Regions from separate parts of the Homo sapiens genome. Here regions 2 and 3 are each linked to region 1. The links are contacts of gene promoters, found by promoter capture Hi-C in blood cells and fetal thymus (Javierre and others, 2016). All regions are on one chromosome and are shown on one strand. Each heading gives the region's core, a stretch centred on a gene start or on the middle of the fragment in contact. The rest is flanking DNA. Distances are from core to core; before and after follow the strand shown. Region 1 holds the start of CXCR2 (C-X-C motif chemokine receptor 2). Region 2 overlaps USP37 (ubiquitin specific peptidase 37). Region 3 overlaps USP37 (ubiquitin specific peptidase 37).

Region 1 (4,411 bases), core at 1,267-3,766:
TTGGATTTATTGCTGGAAAGTTAGTGTGATCTTTTGGGGGTGTTACAGAACCCTGTTTTGTCATATTGCCAGAATTACTTTTCTGGTTCCTTCTCATTTGGGTAGACTATTTCTTCAAGTTATTCTTGAATTTATTTTTGATTTGACTTTTTTTTTTTTTTTGAGATGGAGTTTCGCTCTTGTTACCCAGGCTGGAGTGCAATGTCTGATCTCGGCTCACTGTGACCTCCACCTCCCCGATTCGAGTGATTCTCCTGTCTCAGCCTCCCGAGTAGCTGGGATTACAGGCATGTACCAGCACACCCGGCTAATTTTGTATTTTTAGTAGAGACAGGATTTCTCCATGTTGGTCAATCTGGTCTTGAACTCCTGACCTTAGGTGATCTGCCAGCCTCAGCTTCCCAAAATGCTGGGATTACAGGCGTGAGCCACCACGCCCAGCAACTATGTTTTTTTTTTATTTCTTTTTCTTCCCTCTTAAGGATCTGACTTTAATATTTATAGTTTATTTTAGCCTAATTTGATCCTTGGTTTTTAGGAGTGAAGACTTTTGGATTTTAGGAGTGAAGACTCTGTATGAGTTCGTTAGTTAGAGACAGTCCTTGTGTGCTGGCTTTCCCAGATCCTGGTTGTAGCAGTTACGTACTTGGTGTGTGGGAAGGTTTACTGTCTCCTACAGGGTTGGAATGGCAGGAATCTCTTTAAGCTTACCTCATTCTCTCGTGGGGTACTCTTTATTTATTTATTTAATTTTTCCCCAGTATTTTACTTACTGAGTTGATTCAGGCTTTGGACCAGTAGGGGAAGTATCCCTGGGTAGGCACCAGATGTAGCTAAAGTAGGTGGGTAGGCACCGGTTGTAGCTAAAGCAGGTGGGCAGAGATCCCAGCCTTGATGAGAGTGCCTGGGAGAGCTCTCAATTAGATGTGCTGAGGTTTTGTCAGGGTGAAGGGTAGGAGCTACCTCAGGTCCCCCACTAGGCCAGCTGGAAAGCTATCCACCTCCCAGCTTCACTCCTTTCCCAGTGTTCCAGCTATTCAGATCAGACAGGCAGTTATTTTCATCTGTAGAAATGTTGATGTTCCAAGTAGAGAGGAATTGTGACTGCCTGTCATGCAAACCTGAATCTGGGGAGTGCTCCTCCCGTGGGGATGCAATCACCCTGATTTGTTCCAGGAAGGCTGTCTATAGGTGCATCAATGCTGCGTTCCTTTGGGAGAAGCCCCAGCTCTGTCTGCAGTGGCGTACCAGGGGGAACAAGGATCCCTTCTCTAAGACCCTTCACAATACCAGAGGCTGCCTGCCTATTGGGTAGAGGTGCAAACTTTCCCCCACTCTGCCCAGCACAGCAATTGTCTCTGCAATAGGAAACTTCCCACCAGTGAAAAGATCTGGGACTCAAGCCCTGCCATTCAGATTCTTTTGTTCCACAGGGTATTCCCTTGATGTGATGTTCTTCCCCTTCCTCTAGGAATGGGACTTCCTGGAAGCCAGACTACAGTGCTCTTCTGGGTCTAGCCACCCAGTGGGCCTACCAGACTCTGGGCTGGTGCTAGGGAATGTCTGCAAGGGATCCAGTGGTGTTACCTGTCTTCAAGACTCCCAGCAGTGAATACCAGCACCATCTCTGACAGAAGTGGGAGGGGAGTGATGCAAACTCTGCAAGATTCCTTGGTTGTAGATAGACTTAGAGTATTGACTTTCTCAAATGCTGGTTATAATTATAGTGAACTTATCACGTGGACAGACGCAGGACTTCTGGTTAGCCAGGGTGTTGTAAGCAGTGGTGATAGCTGAGAATATGCAGCCGTTTTCTCCTTCCTGGGTACAGTGCTATTCTGCCTAGAGGTGAGTTTTTGCCTGTCTCACAGAGTAGGCTGCAGCCTGCCACTTCTTTCAAAAGTTCTGTGGATTCTTTCAGCTTTCCTGTTCAGTTCCTGCATTCGTTCCTGGAGAAAAAAAAATTATAGTGTGAATCTCTACACGCTATTCTGTCCTTCCAGATGGGAGAGGCATGCTAATGCTGCCTCCAATCTGTTGTCTTGGGGGGAAAGAAAGCAATTTGTTTTTGTTTTTTTTTTTAATGGATTTGCTGGGTTTAGTAACCCAGAGGTCATTGGGAACCTTGGCGAAAGTTATTTCAGTGGAGCAGTAGGAAGGAAGCCAGTTGCAGTGTCTTTGTTGAGCAGCAGAGGGGAGGTGAGGAAGTGGAGAGAGCAGCTGTGGTGGCTGAAGGGTGCTAGGACAGAGGGAGCATGATAAAGCCATAAGTAAGATGTGGTAGAAGGGAAAGAGCCAGGACAGAGGGGAGAGAAAGCAGGATCCTCAAGGACCAGAGAGGCAGTGGGTCCCACAGTCAGGTGCGGGGATTCAACAGAAACAGAAGGAGGGACGCTTCTCACTCTGACCCCGGAAAGAAGGAAGAAACTGCGTGCGAGTTCAGACAAGTCCGTTGGCGGGGGCTGGGATGCCTGCATCTTCCTTGTTAAAAAAGGAAGTGCAGGTTCAAAACATTCAGAGACAGAAGGTGGATAGACAAATCTCCACCTTCAGACTGGTAGGCTCCTCCAGAAGCCATCAGACAGGAAGATGTGAAAATCCCCAGCACTCATCCCAGAATCACTAAGTGGCACCTGTCCTGGGCCAAAGTCCCAGGACAGACCTCATTGTTCCTCTGTGGGAATACCTCCCCAGGAGGGCATCCTGGATTTCCCCCTTGCAACCCAGGTCAGAAGTTTCATCGTCAAGGTTGTTTCATCTTTTTTTTCCTGTCTAACAGCTCTGACTACCACCCAACCTTGAGGCACAGTGAAGACATCGGTGGCCACTCCAATAACAGCAGGTAGGTGACTTGTTCAGTCTGAGATGCTGGCAACATATTTCTAATGGAAGAGATCTGGAAACTTCAGCCTCCTCTGAGGCCCCTGAGAACTGGGGTGATGAAGTGTAGAAGCTTAGAGCTAAAGACAACTAAGTCTTCACCTAGACAGTGTTGCACAAAAGAATTTTCTGCAATAATAGAAATGTCCTAGACCTGCCCTGCCCAGTATGGTAGCCACTAGTCACACGTGGCCACGGAGCACTTGAAATGTGACTAGTGTGACTGCGGATCTCAATTTTTATTTCATTTTATTTTATTTTATTTTTTCTTTTTTGAGACAGGCTCTCACTCCAATGCCCAGGCTGGAGTGCTGTGGCATGATCTTGGCTCATTGCAACCTCAACCTACAGGTCTAGGTGATTCTCCCACCTCAGCCTCCCAAGTAGCTGCAGCTACAGGCATGTGCCGCTACACTCAGCTAATTTTTTGGGTTTTGTTTGTTTGTTTGTTTTGTTTTTGTTTTTGTAAAGACAGGGTTTCGTCATGTTGCCCAGGCTGATCTCAAACTCCTGGGCTCAAGCGATCCGCCCACCTCGGCCTCCCAAAGTGCTGGGATTACAGGCATGGGCCACCTTGCCTGGCCTTTATTTTAATTAATTTTAATTTAAATAGCTACACATGGCTAGTAGCTAGCATGCTGAACAGAATAGAATTAGAAGAAGCTCCCGTTTTCCAAAGGCACACAACAAGGCCCAGAAAGAATGACTTCTCCAAGCAGGATTAGAAGCCAGGTTTTTGTTTTGTTTTTGTTTGAGACAGGGTTTTGCTCTGTCGCCCAGGCTGGAATGCAATGGCACAATCTCGGCTCACTGCAACTTCTGCCTCCCGAGTTCAAGCAATTCTTATGCCTCAGCCTCTGGAGTAGCTGGGATTACAGGCGTGCGCTGCCACGCCTGGCTAATTTTTGCATTTTTAATAGAGGCGGGGTTTCACCATGTTGGCCAGGCTGTTCTGTAACTCCTGGCCTCGAGTGATCCACTCACCTCAGCCTCCCAAAGTGCTGGGATTACAGGCATGAGCCACCGCACCAGAAGCCAGTTTTTTAATTCACTCCACCCTGCATATAACCGCAGTGATCTCCATGGAAATGAAATTGACCTAAGGAGCATGAAGAAGGAGGCTGACTGGGAAATGTCAAATCTGGGCTCCCCTCTCTACATCCTTTGTATCTGACTTTCTGGGACACAGGGAGGTACCTAATGGAGCTCAGAAACTTTAGGCTGGGATCCTGCTCCTTATTACAGTGAACAGGAGATAGGATTTGAGAGCAGATTTTTAGAAGTTTTTTAAACTGAAAACCTAGTTCAGCTGTGTCACTCTAGGTATGTTGCTTAACCTCTCAGAGTCTTCATTTCCTCTTCCAGAAAGTGCCTGCTTCGTGAGGTTATCCTGAGGATTAATTGATACAAATTCTGGAAAGCACTTTGCCCAGAAGCTAGAACCTGGTAGACACTCAACATTACAGCTAATATGACAATTAATATCCAGGTCAAAGTAAATTAGATGTCATCAAAGTCAGCCTTGAAAGCA
Region 2 (4,411 bases), core at 483-2,982, 350 kb after region 1:
CCAACTATGAGAATGTAGAAAATAATTTCCTGATATTCTAGTATTCTCTTCATTTCCAAAATCCTATGGCTGGTGTACCTGAAACACATTAGCAATATATAGTTGTCTAGATCTTGGGGCTATCAAGAGAGAAAAATTTGAACTGGTCATAGGAAAAGATAGTAAAAGTTATCTACCTAAAAATTTCAAAACACCCACAGTACAAGGCAGGATGGCTCAGCTCTGTTGTTCCCACTGATAGCTTTAGATAACAAAAAATGAGTAAAAATTACCAAAAAAATAGTATAGCATTTTATGTACAGTCATGTGTTGCTTAATGATGAAGACACATTCTAAGAAATTGCATGGTTAAGTGATTTCGTCTTTGTGCGAACATCTTCGAGTATATTCAACACAAACCTAGATGGTATAGCTGACTATACATCTAGGCTACATGGCATAGCTCCTGGGCTATAAACCTGTAAAGCATGTTACTGTACTGAGTACTGTAGGCAACTGTAACACAATGGTAAGTAGTTGTGTATCTAAATACATCTAAACATAGAAAAAGCAATGCATTGTGCAGGGAATGGAGAACTTGAATTATTTATACCCTAACACCTGGTGTAAATTCAGATATAGGAAAATGAAAGAATTATATGAATTTCTGAAATAGCAGTGGTGAGAAAAGCACCTCAGAACTGACACAAACATATATTAAATGCACATAAGAAGGCTAGTTTTACTAGTGATGTATACCTAAAGGGATATGGCATACTTTACCACTAGTATCTGTGTACTAGTCACAATATTTGCTTCTCATTTTTCAAAGCTTTTTATAATACAGAATGAAAATGCCATCAACCCTGTTATATACAGATCCACTTCACCTCCCTTTATTTGTTTTTATCTGAGAAGGAGTCTCACTCTGTCGCCCAGGCTGGAGTGCAGTGGTGCAATCTTGGCTCACTGCAACCTCCGCCTCCCGGTTCAAGCGAATTCTCCTGCCTCAGCCTCCCGAGTAGCTGGGATTAGGGTCACACACCACCATGCTCAGCTAATTTTTCTATTTATCTCCCGTTATTTGGAGGTTATTTGTCACTACAAAACTTTGAAAGAGTTATGTTTTGTTTCACAGAGGTTTAATCTTCATTAAACCTACCCAGCTCTGTGATTGTTTTGGGCTTCTCAGTTTCCATAGTGTCTGGATTTTCTGGCATTTCTTGAATATCATCTTCTGCAAATCCGGTATCTGGGCTGCTAGTTGGCTTATCATCATCTTCATGACTCAGAGATGGTGAAGCATCTCTCTTACTTATCTCCAAGACAGCTGCTAGAAGCTCTTCTTCGCTCATTCTGTCAAATCCTGAGTTTTCCAATTCAGACTTGTCAGGCTCTATTGGGCATAATTTTGAATCCTGAAGAAGAGAGTTACTTTTAGAAGAAACCAGAATACCTACAAATATAGCAATCTTAATTAGTATTTAAAGTAGCAACTTTATTTCTAAAAAGTTTCCTTTCTTTGATGCTTTGGGTTATTTAACAATCAATAACCAATATATAAACTAAATGGTGAGTCTAACTTTAAAAATAATAAATACATAAGAATACATTATTTTTTCTTGATTGAAATAAGTATATATTTTGTACAAATTTGGAGAATACATAAAAATAATAAAATAAATTCATTCAAAATAGATTACTCAGAGATAATTACTCTAAGTATTTTCAATTTATTTTCTTCCAGATATATATAGATTATACAGTAAATATTCTATCATTATGCCTACTACACCATTATAAATGTTAGCTGATCTTATTAACAATAAATGAGAAAAATAAACACGACATCAAGATTATGTAAAGAAGGCTGGGCGAGGTGGCTCACGCCTGTAATCCCAGCGGTGGATCACCTGAGGTCAGGAGTTTGAGACCAGCCTGGCCAACATGGCGAAAACCCGTCTTTACTAAAAATACAAAAATTAGGCTGGGCGTGGTGGCTCATGCCTGTAATCCCAGCACTTTGGGAGGTCGAGGCCAGCAGATCACTTGAGGCCAGGAGTTCGAGATCAGCCTGGCCAACATGGATAAACTCCATCTCTACTAAAAATACAAAAAAATTAGCCAGGCATGGTGGCACGCACCTGTAGTCCCAGCTACTAGGGAGACAGAGAATCGCCTGAACCTGGGAGGTGGAGGATGCAGCAAGCTAAGATCACACCACTGCACTCCAGCCTGGGTGACAGGGCAAGAGTCTGTCTCAAAAATAAATAAATAAATAAATTAAATAAAAAACCAAAACCCAAAAATTAGGGAGATGTTGTGGTGTACGTCTGTAATCCCAGCTACTCAGGAGGCTGAGGCAGGAGAATCACTTGAACCTGGGGGATAGAGACTGCAGTGAGCCAAGATCGTGCCACTGCACTCCAGCCTGGGCAACAGAGTGAGACTCCGTCTCAAAAAAAAAAAAAGATTATGTAAATATTCAAAAGTTGTTTTCTGGGAGAATTTTGGACTTTCACACATTTCTCATTCAAGTTGAACAACCACAAACTACCTCTGGCTTTAAAGTAAGATAGGAAACAGAACAAAAATAACTACTAAAATAATTCTATTATTTAAAAGGGAGGCTTAAAATAAAATACAGTAGCATAAGATAATGCAAACACCTAGAAAAGCTTAGATCTTCAAAGTATTAACTATCCATATAATTATCTATATATTAATCCAATTAATAAATCCATAATTTAAACAATTAGATTACTTGGTTGCTCTGTTGATGTAAAATGTTTACTACAGTTCCCTCACATAAACAATTGCTACAGGCTGGGAGTAGTGGCTCATGCCTGTAATCCCAGCACTTAGGGAAGCTGAGGTGGTAGGATCACCTGAGCCCAGGAATTTTAGACCTGCCTAGGTCACACAGTAAGACCTTGTCTCTACAAAAAATTTTAAAAACTAGCCAGGCATGGTGGTACATGCCTGTAGTCCCAGCTACTTGGGGAGCTGAGGTAGGAGGATTGTTTGAGCCCAGGAGAACGATGCTGTGGTGAGCCGTGATTACACCACTGTACTCCAGCCTGGGCAACAGAGCGATACCCTGTCTTAAAAAACTGCTACCAAAATAAAGCAAGTAATTATTTGAGGACGAATATGCAAAAGTAGCTTTGAAGGGCAAAAAAAGAAAGTAATTTGTTTAGAACAACGAATTTCTCGTAAGTCTTGATCCATCTGTAAACAGACTGATTTCTGTAGCCAGAGAAGGCATTTTCTTTAAAACTAATTAGTTTGATGATGGTTATGAAAGACATTTGTTTGGACAGTAAGAGATAAACAAATCTTTGTCAGATGTTTTAAGAAAATATTACTTACTTTTTCCAGGTCTTCCTGCTGCTGTTCGTTGCCTAACATTTCACAAAGTCTCTGGCTGAGGGCCACAGAACGTTTTAGCTCATCCTCACTGTCTGAATCAAGGCATAAAGCCAAGGAGCTCTTGGATTTGAAGGTGAATTTCCTGTAATTTAAGGAAAAAAAAAAAAGCCTGATAAACATTTGTCTTTGTTATTCTTTTATTGTAAAAATATCAAAACAAATTGCTTTTCCATTACGGAAAATTACTTAACAGAAAAAAAAGATATATCAAAAGAGGTATATTTCAGCATTACCTTTGCCCCACTCCAAAAGAGCCATGCTTTGAAAACTGGACAACTCTTATGCTACTACGTATCATCAGTAAACTAATCATGTTGTGCCTTTTTTCTTTTAATGATCAACCCCAATGAAATTTGCTATTGTCTTTATAAATTATGCTATTGAATTCATGCAGGCATAGCAATGAATAAATGTTTTTGACAACAAAGTGCATGAAGACTAATTTGTGATCTTTTAAATTATGATCCATGCACTTTAAAAATAACAGTAACATTCCACTTATCCACTTATCTGTAGGTCAGACTTCTGGCAACCTCTACTTTCCAGAACATAGGGATTCCAAAGTAAGAAAAAAGGCTTCTGAGGAAGGCAGTTCCAAAGCCCATGTACTTAGAGGGACCCTTTCTTTCCCAGGAAATGGTGAATAAAATAGTGTATCAAGTTCATCAAGAAATGAGAGCTAAGAAATGAGAAAGAATAACCACAAGAAAGGCAAACAAGAACTATAAAGTCATTTAATGTAAAAGCAAACTATCTTGTAATAATTAAGAGCCTCTGAGGGCAATATCATATTGAAACACAGTGCAATAATTGATACTTAAAATGCTGATTCTAAGTCATTAAGATATACTTAAATTATCCTTAGTTATTTTAAGAATGTAAGGAACAGTGTAACATATTTTAGAAACATTTTCATCCAAACTGTTAAAAATCTTTTAAAAGATAAATCGTTAAAAGGTAAGCTTCAGTTATATAAAAATTCACTTATGTGGAATCCTTT
Region 3 (4,411 bases), core at 1,668-4,167, 330 kb after region 1:
AAAAAGTAAAATAAAATTGATATGGATAAGGCCTTCACAATTCCATTTCATGCCTGTATTTTATTTAAAAAGCAGCTCACTCATTTGATCTTAACCCTTTGAATGCTGATTTTTAAGAATAGAGGGGAACTGACAACAGTTAGCTTTAATGAACATGCTAGGTAATTCCCATCCATATAAATCAGATCTTCTAGCTGATAAAACTGGATGACCAAAACTATTTATGACAGGACATCTTCTATCATAAAACAAACTGTCTTAACTTCCATACCTAGATACAACTGTGTAATGAGCAATTAATGCTGAGTTATGAGAGAAAATATTCTGGACTTACAAGGAAATATCAAGAGATAGACCCTAACCAAAGATGATAAAAACCAAAAATTTTCAACCAATCAACTGATGGAAACATTTTATCCTCAAAGGAAAAAAAAAAAAAAAAAAGAGTTCCGGTGATTTCTAACTCATTATTTAGAATCTGGCAAAGTTTCTTACTTGTGCATATAAAAGAAGATGTAGCCACTCCGATCTCGATCACTCTGCACGGCAGCCTCTTGGATTTTTGATACCTCCAGGTCATTGTAAGTAAACCACGCTTGCTTCTTAATGTCATATACATCACTAATGTAATGACCTGAAACAAATAACATCTTAAAATCAAGGTTTTTAAAAACACACCGAAGCTGGGCGCGATGGCTCACGCCTGTAATCTCAGCACTTTGGGAGGCTGAGGCAGGCGGATCACGAGGTCAGGAGTTTGAGACCAGCCTCACCAACATGGTGAAGCCCCGTCTCTACTAAAAATACAAAAATTAGCCAGGCATGGTGGCGTGCGCCTGTAGTCCCAGCTACTCAGGAGGCTGAGGCAGGAGGATTGTTTGAACCCAGGAGGTGGAGGTTGCAGTGAACCGAGATAGCACCACTGCACTCCAGCCTGGGTGACAGAGTGAGACTCCATCTCAAAAAAATAAACAAAAACGCATTAATTTTATCTCAGGTGCAGGAAGTTTGAGAAAGAAAAAAAGCTACCACATTCACCTTATCCTCAACACTGTGTCTAAAACCCATTGAAGAAACATACAGGCCAGGCACAGTGGCTCACTCCTATAATCCCAGCACTTTGGGAGGCCAAGGCAGGAGGACTGCTTGAGGCCAGGAGTTTGAAACCAGCTTGGGCAACAAAGCAAGAACCCGTCCATACAAAAAATTTAAAAAAATTAGTCAGGTGTGGTGGCATGCACGTGTAGTCGCAGCTACTCAGCAGGCTGAGGGAGGAGGATCTCTTGAGCTCCTGAGCCCAGGAATTCAGTGCTGCAATGAGCTAATGATGGTGCCACTGCACTCCAGCCTGGTGACAGAGTGAGACCCTGTCTCTTGAAAAAAAAAAAAAGAAAAAAGAAGAAAAAAATATTTGTATATACACAGAGAATCAAGGAGGCATATGCTACACTGGTACACCATTTTTGATTAATGTATTTTGTTCAGGGGAATTTAGGTCACTTATGAATTGAGAAATCAAAACAGTTACACCTATTAACACAATGCACATTGAGTGTGATCAAAGTAGATTTCAAAGATTTTCTTGAAAAACTTATACTTCGTGGGCTGGGCATGGTCGCTCACGTCTGTAATCCCAGCACTTTGGGAGGCCAAGGTGGGTGGATCTCTTGATCCCAGGAGTTCAAGACCAGCCTGGCCAATATGGTGAAACCCCATCTCTACTAAAAATGCAAAAATTAGCTGGGCGTGGTGGTGCATGCCTGTAATCCCAGCTACTTGGGAGGCTGAGACAGCAGAATCACTTGGACCCAGGAGGTGGAGGCTGCAGTGAGCCGAGATTGTGCCACTACACTCCATCCTGGGCAACAGAGTGAGACTGGATCTCAAAAAAAAAAAGAAAAAGAAAAAGAAAAACACACTTCACAAAGCTAGGCAAAGAGCAATATAATAAAGAGCAAATGCTGACTAGTTCATTTATAAAATGCTGAAATCATGATGGCTATTCACCTGAAGAAGAAGTGCTACCAATGTGACTGACAACACTGATGAGCCGGTACGAATGAGGCAGATTTCCTGTCTGGAAAACAGAAGTGGGTATAACTTTTAAGTCTTCATTTGAATAAAAGCAAAACACTGAATATAAATTTATTATCAAAGCTGACATGGCTAAGCTTTGGTATGTGGCATAGTAAGAATCAATTAAAAAATCTGTTCATACCCTTTGACCCAAGAATTCCACCCTCAACTAAGAATTTATTCTAAGGAAATAAGTCAAAAGAAGAGTATATGTATCAAATTATTTACTGTGGCATTATCTGGTGAAAAGCTGGAACCAACAATATATCCAATAATAGCTAACTGGTTAGTATATCAATTCAATATAATAATGTTCAGTTATATAAAAAAACTACATGGATCAGGAACATGTTAACCTTTTTTCCAAACCCATATGAATGCACATAGTAACTATAACTCTATTAAAAAAATGTTACGTTAAGAGTTAGGCATTGGACAATAGAACAAAAATGTTAAAAAGAGTTGCTATGTTGCTGTAGGGATCAGAGTGAACTTTTATATTTTAAAAAATATGATTAAAATATTTTTGGTAAAATAAAGCAAAACTGAAAAAGTGATATTCATGCACTGCAGACAGCACTATAAGGTAAAATTTGGGGAAGGAAGGCCAGGCGTGGTGGCTCACGCCTGTAATCCCAGCACTTTGGGAGGCCAAGGTGGGCAGATCACGAGGTCAGGAGATTGAGACCATCCTGCCTAACACAGTGAAACCCTGTCTCTACTAAAAAAACACAAAAAATTAGCTGGCGGGCGCCTGTAGTCCCAGCTGCTCGGGAGGCTGAGGCAGGAGAATGGCATGAATCCAGGAGGTGGAGCTTGCAGTGAGCTGAGATCGGGCCACTGCACTCCAGCCTGGGCGACAGAGCAAGACTCTGTCTCAAAAAAAAAAAAAAAGAAAAGAAAAGAAAAGAAAAAAAAAATTGGGGGAAGGAATATGGCTATATGTAAACCAGAAACTTAAAATGTTCATAAACTTCGATTTAGTAATTTACTTCTGGAGAATATAAAAGGAGAAATTCTAAAATATAGAAAATGCATGAGCCAAGAGCACACGCCACTGCACTCCAGCCTGGGTGACAGACAGACCTTGCCTAAAAAAAAAAAAAAAAAAAAAAACAACTCTATGTTTGGCCAGGTGCAGTGGCTCAGGCCTGTAATCCCCATACTTTGGGAGGCAGAGATGGGTGGATCCCTCAAGGCCAAGAATTTGAGACTGGCCTAGCCAACATGGTGAAATTGCATCTCTACTAAAAATACAAAAATTAGCTGGGCATAGTGGCTCATGCCTGCAATCCCAGCTACTCAGGTGGCTGAGGCACAAGAATCGCTTGAGCCCAGGAAGTGGAGGAAGTTGCAGTGAGCTGAGATCGTGTCACTGCACTCCAGCCTGGGTGACAGAGCGAGACTCTGTCTCAAAAAAATTAAAAAATAAAATAAAATAAAATAAGGAAAATGCTATAAGCATACAGTTTCCCAACTTATTATCATAGTGAAAAATTAAAAACAACTTAGACAAATACTCAATGTTAGCTAAAAGTTAAATAAGTAGGATATTTATTTGAGGCAATATAGTACAGCCATTAAACATAAGCTTATAAATAACTACTCTTTAAGAAACAGGATAACCTGGGTGTGGCAGTGTGTGCCTCTAGTTCCAGCCATTTGGAAGGCTGAGGCAGGAAAATCCCTTGAGCCCAGGAGTCTGAAGCCAGCCTGGGCAACACAGTGAGACTCTGTCTCTAGAACAAAAAAGCAAATGAAATAAAAACTATACTTACGACTTTTTAAAAAGTATACATGGAGGTGAGAATAACAAAGAAATATGTCAAAGTGCTGAGAGTAATTGTGTTAGGATGGTAGGATCCTGGATAATCAAAATTTGAGGAGAAAAAGCAATTATTTAAGGGGGGAAAAAGGGTTAAAAAAAAAAAAACAGTTCAATGTGCCCTAATTAACATCACCAATTCAATAGTTTTCAGTGAGGAACAACCGTTTTTGGTATTTAATTATAAAGATGATACAGTTATTCAGTGTAACTAAAGGTAATTTTTTCCCCCCGAGATGGAGTTTCGCTCTTGTTGCCCAGGCTGGAGTACAATGGCATAATCTTGGCTCACTGCAACCTCCTCCTCTTCCCAGGTTCAGGTGATTCTCCTGCCTCAGCCTCCCAAATAGCTGGGATTACAGGCGTGTGCCACCACGCCCAGCTAATTTTTGCATTTTTAGTAGAGACAGGGTTTCACCATGTTGGTCAGGCTGGTCTCGAACTCCTGATCTCAGGTGATCCACCTGCCCCAGCCTCCCAAAGTGCTGGGATTACAGGCGTGAGCCACCA

The links. Contacts are between HindIII fragments. The CHiCAGO score rates a contact against its expected background, and 5 or more counts as called.
Region 2: a fragment that was not itself captured here is called in contact with the fragment with the promoter of CXCR2 in region 1 in 1 of 17 cell types (neutrophils); the score reaches 5.5 in neutrophils.
Region 3: a fragment that was not itself captured here is called in contact with the fragment with the promoter of CXCR2 in region 1 in 1 of 17 cell types (neutrophils); the score reaches 5.1 in neutrophils.

What each region holds. Positions count from the first base shown.
Region 1 is chr2:218,123,512-218,127,922 of GRCh38, forward strand. It overlaps CXCR2 (C-X-C motif chemokine receptor 2), which reads left to right and starts at 2,517. Exons shown (of 3, transcript NM_001557.4): 1 at 2,517-2,842. The HindIII fragment of the contact is 2,247 bases long and covers 705-2,951 here.
Region 2 is chr2:218,473,489-218,477,899 of GRCh38, forward strand. It overlaps USP37 (ubiquitin specific peptidase 37), which reads right to left. Exons shown (of 26, transcript NM_020935.3): 19 at 3,352-3,493; 20 at 1,142-1,397. Among named protein-coding and RNA genes, the nearest start is that of VIL1, 57 kb to the left of the region's middle. The HindIII fragment of the contact is 1,846 bases long and covers 810-2,655 here.
Region 3 is chr2:218,455,085-218,459,495 of GRCh38, forward strand. It overlaps USP37 (ubiquitin specific peptidase 37), which reads right to left. Exons shown (of 26, transcript NM_020935.3): 24 at 2,008-2,077; 25 at 496-634. Among named protein-coding and RNA genes, the nearest start is that of VIL1, 38 kb to the left of the region's middle. The HindIII fragment of the contact is 1,496 bases long and covers 2,170-3,665 here.